3 separate regions of the Homo sapiens genome follow, and all the other regions are linked to region 3. The links are contacts of gene promoters, found by promoter capture Hi-C in blood cells and fetal thymus (Javierre and others, 2016). All regions are on one chromosome and are shown on one strand. The core of a region is centred on a gene start or on the middle of the fragment in contact, and the rest is flanking DNA. Distances in the headings are between cores, read along the strand shown. Region 1 has its middle 310 kb from the start of FSTL5. Region 2 has its middle 350 kb from the start of FSTL5. Region 3 holds the start of NPY5R (neuropeptide Y receptor Y5).

Evidence for each region. Contacts are between HindIII fragments. The CHiCAGO score rates a contact against its expected background, and 5 or more counts as called.
Region 1: a contact is called between a fragment that was not itself captured here and the fragment with the promoter of NPY5R in region 3, in 1 of 17 cell types (megakaryocytes). The highest score is 6.1, in megakaryocytes.
Region 2: a fragment that was not itself captured here is called in contact with the fragment with the promoter of NPY5R in region 3 in 4 of 17 cell types (endothelial precursors, erythroblasts, M1 macrophages and 1 more); the score reaches 8.6 in endothelial precursors.

Annotation. Positions count from the first base shown.
Region 1 is chr4:162,469,542-162,473,074 of GRCh38, forward strand. No RefSeq gene overlaps it. Among named protein-coding and RNA genes, the nearest start is that of FSTL5, 310 kb to the left of the region's middle. The HindIII fragment of the contact is 931 bases long and covers 1,281-2,211 here.
Region 2 is chr4:162,509,584-162,513,041 of GRCh38, forward strand. No RefSeq gene overlaps it. Among named protein-coding and RNA genes, the nearest start is that of FSTL5, 350 kb to the left of the region's middle. The HindIII fragment of the contact is 2,348 bases long and covers 829-3,176 here.
Region 3 is chr4:163,342,294-163,345,673 of GRCh38, forward strand. NPY5R (neuropeptide Y receptor Y5) reads left to right here and starts at 1,599. Exons shown (of 4, transcript NM_006174.4): 1 at 1,599-1,707. It also overlaps a transcript of NPY1R not described here. The HindIII fragment of the contact is 4,145 bases long and covers 1,244-3,380 here.

The DNA.
Region 1 (3,533 bases), core at 496-2,995, 870 kb before region 3:
CATGTTTACATTTGGTTGTCATCAAGTCTCTACAAAGACCTTCCTCTCCTCTGTGTTAGTCTGTTCTAGGTTCTGAAAGACAATAGGAAAGACGTTATAGCTGCTTTATACCTACAAAGAGTAAATATCTTCCCATCCCACACATTCTGCCTCCAGGTCTAAGTGCACATTTTCTTTGAGGATCTGCTTCTTTTAATCACACTTCTTAGAGAGGTGACTATGAGGGTTACATGGTAAAACAAAAGATAAAATAAAAGCACATTCTACATAGGAGTAGTGTCTGGCACGGGATACTTTCCCAGAAAACGTTAGTTCTGTACACACACACACACACACACACACACACACTCACAGACTTTTTGTTTCCTAACTTTGCATTCTAAAGCAAAATAACATGTTTCCTGTCATTAGCTTTACTTTCTTTATCTATGCTTTTAAATGTTCCATGTGGCATCTGTTTTCCTCTACTTATGTTCTCAAAATATAAAAGGTCATTTAATACTAATAAATTATATCTAGAGAGTAAAAGTAAAGACATTTGCTTTGGGTTACTAGCTCATGTTTATCCAAGTCACATTCAGATGCAGTCCCTTCTGCAAGTCATTGACATATTTAGATAAATGGGATAACACATTTCAATGAATATGGGAAAAGCCAATTCACCAGAGGCAAGAGTGAAGTATTATGGGGAAATTCATTTCCCTTGCCTTTTGCCCTTCATTAACAAAAATGAATGAGGAACTGAGATCATTAAAGAGCTGGTTGAAAATCAAAGAGCAGAATAACAGTGTTACCAATAAACAAAGTCTTAAGAATAATAACAGGATAAATAATGTAATACTCAATAGGCCTGTTTCTGCTAATCCCCATTAAAGGACGAATCTTAGCACTGAGAATTCTAGCAAGATATTTGACAGGATAAGTACTGATTGAGAGTTTAGTTAACATTTCTTTTGAGTTTAGATTTATATCTGTCTTATATCTTAAAGAACATGCTGGGAAACTACAATAAGATATGTATTCTTTCTCAGGGAGTAGACTCCAGAGAAAGGGCTTATCAGAATACTTTACAATAATACCACTTTATCTTAAATAATATAATCCTGTAAAAGCAATACATAGGGAGAAAGGACTAGTGAATATAATACACTTTGTTTCTTCAAGTCACAAGAGAATAACTTGTTTTTGTTACTTGGCTGAGATCTTTCCTGGTAAATTGCAAATCCCTCACTCTTTGTAATATTCTTTACAGGTCTACAAGAAAGGATAAAAGAATTGAAAGCTTCAATATTGTCCCTAAACCATAAAGCCTACTGAATTCCTCCTAGTAGCTTCAAGTCACCGTAATAGAAATTGTGTGACAGGTTTTAGACAGGTCTATAAATAAAATTAATGAGCAAATTTTAGCATACTTTTAAAGCATAATAAGACCTTATAAGATTGTGTTAATTGCTAAATAATCATCATATTCTGCACATGTTGTATATTTTCTATTCTTAAGTATGACTAGCCGATGTTTCTGTTCAAGTTCCCTAGTATTAATAAATATGTCTATAGAGTTTGGAAATAAAGATAATCTTTAAAAAAGAAACAAGTAGCAACACATAATAGAGGAAATTAGTTATTTTGGTAAGTTACCCTCCTAATGCTTGTAAGTGTGTTATTGGGTAGTTTAGTAAAACAGCAAATAAACATACATGCAATAATCAGAGTGACTGAACAAAGTATGAAAAATTAAATGAAGTCAAAACAGTTTTTTTAAATAAGATTATTTGATGAAAAACAATTTTAAAAAGAGTATATTATCTACATATAATACAGAAAATGAAGGACCTAAAACCCACGCACTTAGCAAAATTTTTCTCACTTTTCAGGGAAAAGAGTGAGAAATAGGCAGTTGAGTAATTAGAGGCTGAGCACTCCATAATGCGGGAGGGAGAGTCCATCAATCTCTTTGAAAACCTGGGCAGAGTTATTATCTCTTCAACTACCACATCCTTTTCACGTCATCTACTTAGAGTGATTAGAATTCCTAAGCAACAGGATGCTAGAATTGATGGTTTCTAATTTGTCCAAAGGGTCTTTGCTGAACACCTACTATAGGGCAGGCAGAGATGACATAAAAAGTAATCAAAATTAATCCATGTTATTTCAAATGATTTCTTTAAAATTTAATTTTATGATTTATCGGACCAGTAGTCCTACATTTAAAGCTTTAATTAATTAATTTTCATAATTATTAAACATAAACCGTATAACTGGAGTTCTGTACCTAGTAAGTACAAGTAAGTTTATGCCAGATTGGCTTTTTCCACACATACAAACTAAAAATGGACAAAATAAAAAATACCAAAAGCAAATAAAAAATGAACACATGCTGGCAAAATGTGGAAGGAAAATGACCCTTGGTAGAAAAAAAAATGCATGAGTTAACTTTCCTATATGTATTGACCTTCAGCTTCAGAATGGGCTGGAGTTGGCACTGCGTCTACAGAAAGCCCAGATTATGTTTGACTTGAAGAAATACAGGACTTTTTTTTTTTTTTTTTTTTTTTTTTTTTTTTTTTTTTTGAGATGGAGTCTCGCTCTGTGGCCCAGGCTGGAGTGCAGTGGCGCGATCTTGGCTCACTGCAAGCTCCACCTCTGGGGTTCACGCCATTCTCCTGCCTCAGCCTCCCAAGTAGCTGTGACTACAGGTGCCTGCCACCACGCCCAGCTAATTTTTTGTATTTTTAGTAGAAACGGTGTTTCACCGTGTTGGCCAGGAAGGTCTCTATCCCCTGACTTCGTGATCCGCCCGCCTCGGCCTCCAAAAGTGCTGGGATTACAGGCGTGAACCACTGCGCCTGGTCGGAAATACAGGGCACATTTAGGGAAAACCACAGCCATTGGAAAATGTGATAGGTTGGGTGGGGAGGGGAATTCTATCAAGCAGAGAGCAAGGATAAGTACCCCTAATAAACCCTGTCATTTTTTCCTTTTGACTCCAAAATCACACTTAACAGCCCAGGTAAAATTTAAAAACAAAAACAAAAACTTGAGATCTGAGGTGCCATCCTCAAAATGCCAGAATTATTTATAGAAATATAAAAAAACTATAGTCCTCACAAAATAATATTCACAGTGTTCAGGATACAAACCAACATTGCTTAATAAATAAAGAAATATAAAAAGTGCCACATTCTAAAAAGAAAAGATAATAAAGGGGAAACCAATCTGAGATCATGTAAATAGCAGACTATGATATTAAAATAGCTGTTATAATGATCTTCAATGAGCTAAAAAATTTCTAGCAATAAATGAAACTATAGAAAATCTTAGCAGGGAAACATAAACTACCAAAAATAGAAACCCTAATATTAACGAAAAATATATGTTAATTAAAATGATGGGATAACTTGAGAGTGTAATAGTGATAAAATAGAAAAATCAATAAACTTGGAAGTGATAGTAAATATACCTCTGATTGGATTGTTATGTTTCCATTTTCATGCTCTTCAAAATATATTATAATTTCTCTTGTGTTTTGTTTT
Region 2 (3,458 bases), core at 753-3,252, 830 kb before region 3:
GGTTGTGTGGTGTGTTTCTGTCAGTGCTCAGCTGCTTCAGTTGAATTATAATGTAGATAGGTAGTTGGGTTTGGCCAAAGGCCTGACAGGTGTGAATAGCAGAAGGAAAAAAGAATAGAAAATTTTCCATGATATTATTATAGTGCTGGACCATGAAATCTCAGTTGGGTGACAAATATGAAGCCATAAAAGGGATAATAGATTATGAATTATAGTGAAAAAATGGTAAGTTCACTGAATTGGAGGTCTTAATGAGGTCAAATAATTTTGGAGTGGGATCACAAGAATAGGAAGAGATAATAAATTGCAAGGGTTGGGGTCAAGGTCATGGCAAGGTCTAGGGTGTGCACATTTGAGTACACAGCTGTGGTGGCTTTTCTTTTGTGGTGATAGAGAGCAAAGAAGGCAGGGAGCAGTGCTGTATCATCAGCACAGCAAGAGCATCAAAACCAGCCTTATTGCTTTCACTCTTTTCCTCCAACATTCAACCCTAATCCTCACATGAAGAATCAGTGTTGGGCAGGCAAACCAGAATATGCTCACACCCTCAGCTTAAAACTCTTCAATGTCTCTCATTGTTCTTGGATAAAGAGCACAGTTCTTAAAATGGCCTCTAACACCATGTATTGACAGGCCTTGGCTGAGCTATCTTGCCAGCCTCATCTAAACAAAGCGCCCCTTCCTGACTTTGCTCCAGGCCTTGGGGCCTTCTTTCTGTTTCTCGAATGTGTGCTGTGCTTTCTGCCTGTGCTCTAGTGTTCTCACTCCTCAGTGAATCAGCTCTCCTGACCCCTTCAGGTGTCAGCTTGGTCAGCAATTCCTTGGAAAAGCTTTTCCAGACCTTCCGAACTACCGCAAACCTGATCCTCATGCCTCCAGAGTTCAGAAATGCAAAATAAAAAATAAAGATCATGTCCTACACTTCACAAATGTAATATATCAAAAATATACCAGTTTAGTGAGGTTATGGGAAAATATGCCCTGTGTTCTTTCCATTTCTTCTTCCACAAAGGTCTTTCCATTTCCTCTTCATCATTATAGCTCTTATACATTGCTGATTAAAGCACATGTGAGCTATAATGTGGGTTTTATACACCATTAAATTTATAAAAAGGATAAAAAGCACATATACACTATGAAACAAATTTTGTAATAATACAATACTAATAAGAGCATAATTTTGGTATATATTGCTGGAAAGTGAATAAATATATACCTAAAAGAGGAAGAACCACTATTATAACTGTATGTTTCAGTCAGTGGCAATATAAAGTATACTCAGAAAATATGCCCTTTAAATACTATGCTATATTAAGGCAATACAATTCATTCTTAGAATAATTTCAAAATTCACCAAAATGCTTAAAGATCTCTATAGATTATGTTTGGATAGAGAAACTTCAAATTAGTTTCTGGAAAATGAATTTAATGCGTTGAGTAGAATTAGAGAACAGACTCTCACTAAAAGCCTAGACCTATTTTCTGGAAATTTCCGTTGACTGTAACTAATGCAGCCACTTACTCTAATGCTATGTTTAGTTGTACTCTGCCACCACTCAGTTGTTTCTATCTGGCGTATCATGTGTGCTTATCCTCTCAGAGGTGGGCTATTCCAGGAAATTGCCTGTCAGACATCTGAACATCTACTGTTCTGGGGGTAATCTGGCTTTTTCCTATATTATTAGGTGAATTAGACAAAGAGATTTGTGCCTTATGAAAAAAACTCAATCAGATTTAAAAATATATAAAACATTCTTATCTATAAAAACAGAATAGATGGATAGAATTAAACTCTAATTATAGACATTGTCATACAAAGAAACATGCAAAATTAGAAAACTAGAACAAATGAGCATTTTGTGTTTTAATTTTTACCTAGAAGAAGAATTGAAAAAGTATACTTATTTTTAAATGAGAAAAAAAAACACTAATAAAAGTCAGGAAAAGGAAAAAACAAACATACCTGACTTTTCTCATTGTGTTCTATTTTAGATCCTAAGCACAAGTTATTTACTTTTTTAGACTTGGGTGTGGAGATTAAAGAGAAGGGACCGTAATATATAAGAGACAGCTCTTGGGATTTATCATCAATCACCTTGGGGTCATATTCTGATCAATCATGTAATCTCAGATAAATTACGTCCCATGTCTAAATTTTTGTTTTCCATAAATATAAGATGGAGATAATGAACATTCTTGTCCTATGTGCTTCCTAGGGTTGAGTCTATGATAAAATGTGGTAATGTATGTAGCAATTCTTTATAAATTACTAGGCAAATAATAATTATATTATCATTGTGTTAATTCTGAGTTTGGAAGGGGATCCTCCAATTCTCTGCAAATACTGATGCCATAAAAATTTATGAAGATCATTAAGCCTTATTCACTGCTTTGTGGAAGAGGAAATTGAAAGAACACAGGACATACTATACTATTGGACGTTTCTTTAGAATTGTCCTTGATGGCAATTTGGATTCCAAGTGGCTACTTCACCACTGTGCTATGAATGCAAGAACTGAAGCCTGCACAATGAAGCCCGAGCTTTTGAGGTGAATCTTATCTTGTTAGGGTGAGGTGGACAAAGAATGATATTAAAAGTGTATTTCTAAAAGACAGGATATGCAAGACCTTTAATGTCAATCTCTTATGGGAAGTATCACATTTTTATTCTGTATAAAGAATTGTGTTTTCATTATATCTCTGCATGTTAAAATATAGAGAAATCTGGTCAACAAGTGTGGAAATTCAATGAATCTATTAGCCATCACCTTTAGCTGTGGACTTTGGCCATGTTTGGCTATTTGCCACATTCAGTTAAGGAATCTTACAGGGAATAGATTTAGTAGGACTGTGAGGAAAGACTTAGGAATAATTTAAGGAATAAAGCTCTTGGGTTGGTCAAGAAGGATCTAAACTTAAGGGTCTAGGATGCAGGTCTTTATTTACTACAGATAGAATAACGGAAAAGAATAAGCAAAATAAAAATGTTAAAAATAGTAGACAGAAGAAACAATGGGCACTGTATATCTGTCCCCTAAGAAAATGCCAAATTCAAATCATCCTCTGGAGTTAAGTTGCCCTTTTCTCCTATCCTGTCTCCCACGTGAATGAAATGGACACAGAGTTTCATTTTCAGTGGACGCGTACATTTGCAGTATCTCAATGGGTTATAAACAAGCTTCATATAAAGGTAGTAAAATGTATTATTAACCCCCAAAGATATAATTGCCTTGTACATAAGGCAGTGATGATAGCATAGAAATGAAAATATTCAAAAACTCTCATTTCAGGCTCAGGTGATGCAAGTAACCATGGTAACGTTTCCTGACAGCCTTAATTTAAATAGCAGATTCCAAAGAAAAAATTCCAAATGGACTCCAGAAAGGAAATGGATTATTCAAGGTCCACATAAATCTAATTTAAATAAGTGCTTTACACAAAAATGGAAAGTCTTTAAG
Region 3 (3,380 bases), core at 349-2,848:
TTCACTTGGAATTTGTTTTAAAGACAATGTGTATTTGAAGTGTACATGTTATGACTGTGCAAGAGATGGAAAGATAGAAATTTATGTGGCAATGTGTACTGCATTAACCGCAGAGACAGTGGAGTTAAGAAAGTCTAAAAAACAAGCCTTATTTTCTCAAGGTCATCCCTTCTTGACACTTTCATCCCCTACTCCTTACTGCAGAATCCCAGGTGCCTGCTCAGACGGCCTATTCTGTTAAGCTTTTGGGGAGAATATATTAATATTTCAGAAATAACACACAGAAGAATAAAACAGGAACTGTGTTTACTTGAGTTCTTTAAAAGCTCTTGGATGACTCTTTGACTGATGAAATAGCAATCTATACAGATCCCCTGAGTATTGAATGCTGAAATCCAGCAGAAAGGGGACACAAAAAATTTTCTTTGACCTCTTCTGTAACAGTGATGTCTGCCCCAGATGTTAGAATTACAAGTCACATTGCTCCCAAGGGGTACAGTTCTCTTCGGTTTATCCCACACGACTCTACTCAGCAGGAGATGCTGTCTGTTACATAATAGTTCTCAGTATTAAAGGGTACAATAACTACACCCTTTCTCATGGTAAAGCTATGTCCAAAGACACATGGACATCTACCCAATGTCTCTTTTCTCCCTTCTCTCCTTCTCTCTCTCTCTCTCTCTCACAGACACACACACACACACACACACACACACACACACACACGCGCGCGCGCCTAAAGTACCTGCCACCTAATGATTAGCTAAAAATAAAGCAAACCTGCGCAATACAGATTTGGAAACATTAGGGATGGAAATCATGTTGGGAAGGAACAGAAGGACAGGTTTTCTCTTCTTCTTTTGTGTGGGCTTTTTTCCCGTCTTTTTTTTTTTTTAACCTGTGACAATTCGTTTTTAGCCCTTCGTCTTCTCTTTGCTATTGAATATAGTCTTGAGCAGCGTTGATTTCATTTCAGCTTCACTCCCCTGCTCCTGCCACTTGCCCACACCCACAGCTGCCACTCCTTGGAGTGGGGAAACTTCCCTTCTATTCTGCTGGGCTCATTACCGCAGACGCTGTTGCCTCTCCTGAACATTGGGTCAGCCTCCCCACCTCCACTCTTCCTTACTTCAAAGAGGTGCAAAGGAAGAGCAGTGTTTTGTCTTTTTTCTTTCTTTCTTTCTATCACCACACCACCCCCCACCGTCCCCCACCCCAAACAAAGATAAAACCTGAGAGTCGAAGCTTGTTCTCAGGAATACTAAGAACTTAGGGGCACAGCCATCCTCACACCAGTCCAAGACTTCTCAGAGTTCACTACACAGGGTTGAGGGCTGGACCGGCAAAACTCGATTTGCCCATCAAGTTAACTTGGTCGGCCTGGGACCCGAGGCCAGGGTGAAGGGACGACATCCCGGGGCCCTGTGGCTTCTCCCTAGAGCGCCCAAACAGCGGCGTAGGTCTGGGACGCCCCCGGCCCCCGGCTTTGGAAGAGGCTGGCGCGGAGCAGGCGCCTTGGAGCAGGGTCTCGGGGGTCCCCGGAACAGTCACGTGTTCTCGAGACGCCGTTAAACCCCCGCCCCCTCTTCCCCACCGCCGCCTCCAGGTCCTGCTCCCGCTGCTGCCGCCACCGCCGGGGTGCAGGAGCGATCGCGCTGGGCCGCGCTCCCGGGAGCCCAGGGCCTGCAGCGGCCGGGGCGCCCCGAGGTACGGGCTCCCGCCCCTCCCTGCCAACCCCTTTCGCGCCGGGTAGGCCTGCACCGAGGGGCCGTGGCGGGTCCCCGCGCGGGCTGCGAGTCTGCGCAGGTCCCTGGGAGCCCGCACCCGTCTCTGGTGCCAGGGCGTTGTCGGGGGTCCCAAGAGAGCGGGGTGGGGAAGGTGAAGGGAGCGCGGCTGGAAAAATGGGGATTAGGGTGGCGGAACAGGCACTTGTCAGGAGTGAAGAGACAGCGGAGAGGGTACTGGGCTGAATTCTTTCGTGCCGAGCAGGTCCCTCCGGTTCCCAACTCACCCGGGTGGAGCAGGCGCGGGCCGAACCCGGGAGGAGAGTGTCGGGGATCCGCGAAGGAGCCTCCTGGGGATGGGGCGGGGGATGGACAAAGCGCTGCCCCCGGCTGGACGCGCTCTGGCTGCAGCCCGGCTGGCATCCGGAGCTGGGAACAGCAGCCCGCGGGGTGCCCGGGTCAGGGCTCAACCCTAGCGGGTCTCTGGCGAGGCCGGGGGCGCAGCCCGCGGGGCGCCACTCAGGCCGTCCAGCTGCCGCGCGGTCCAGCGCTGACCCGAGCCCGGGAGGCAGCTGCGCTCTAAGGTTTGCGCTCCTGTTTGCGAGGTGTCTTCATATAACAAATGCGAGCAATAACAAACATCCATAGAACTCGAATTCCAGAAACGGGAATTCTTTTTTCCAAGTTCACAGACCTTTAGTTAATCTTTTAAAGGAACTGAGGCGTTGTGTTGGACCAAAGCCAAAACGATTTTACCTTAGACCATGGAAAATAGCCTAAGGCTCTTTCAGCAGAATTTTGCAGTCCGAATGCAATTTTAGATTTCAGATTTCTCAAGGGAAGAGAAACTCTGCTGTTAGAATTTGGAAGGGAGGGTGGTGCATGCCTGTGTGTTTGTCAGCTGAGCAGAGCTGTATTTATCTTTCCAATTCAAATTGTGCCAGATTCTGGCTTTAAGAACAAACCATGGGAATATTTGAGAACATGGAATCATGCTGCTGTTCCACGATCACAGCAAAACAGACAATAGTTGATATTGTATCATTGCAGGAGGAAAAAGAATTACATATATTTTATTCTTTTGTGTGATTGTCATCCTTTGTGAAAAGAATGATGTGTATTTTCATAAAGCAAAAAATTATTCAAACAAAGAAACCTTATTTAAATGTACAAGTCAGACTTTTAATATCCTTTGAATTCCCTGCAGTTCCTCCTATTATTCTTGAGAACTATCTACTTTCTTAAAATACTTAAAATCTATTCAGAAGGTTTCATTTGTCTAGGTGTCAGATATAGAAGAGTTTATAAGAAAATTCCAGTAAACCTTTAAAAAGATATTATTTTTTATAAGTTGCCATAGTTTAATAAAGAACTTTTATTTTTCACACTTTTTACTCAGAGATTAAAGTTCTGTGTTTCAGCCTGGAAATTCTGATGGTGGGAGATACAACTAATACAAAAGAGAATGAGTAAATATAGTAATTAGGTATGACAAAAGTCTCATGCTGTCAATATCAGATTTCTTGTCAAATAATATTCCATGTTAAAATATTTTTTCTCTGGCTATATTTCATAATTTATATAGCAATTTCAGAAGATTCACATATATCATTACTTTTATAATAGATAAAATATGTTGCATAAAAATGTACAGCA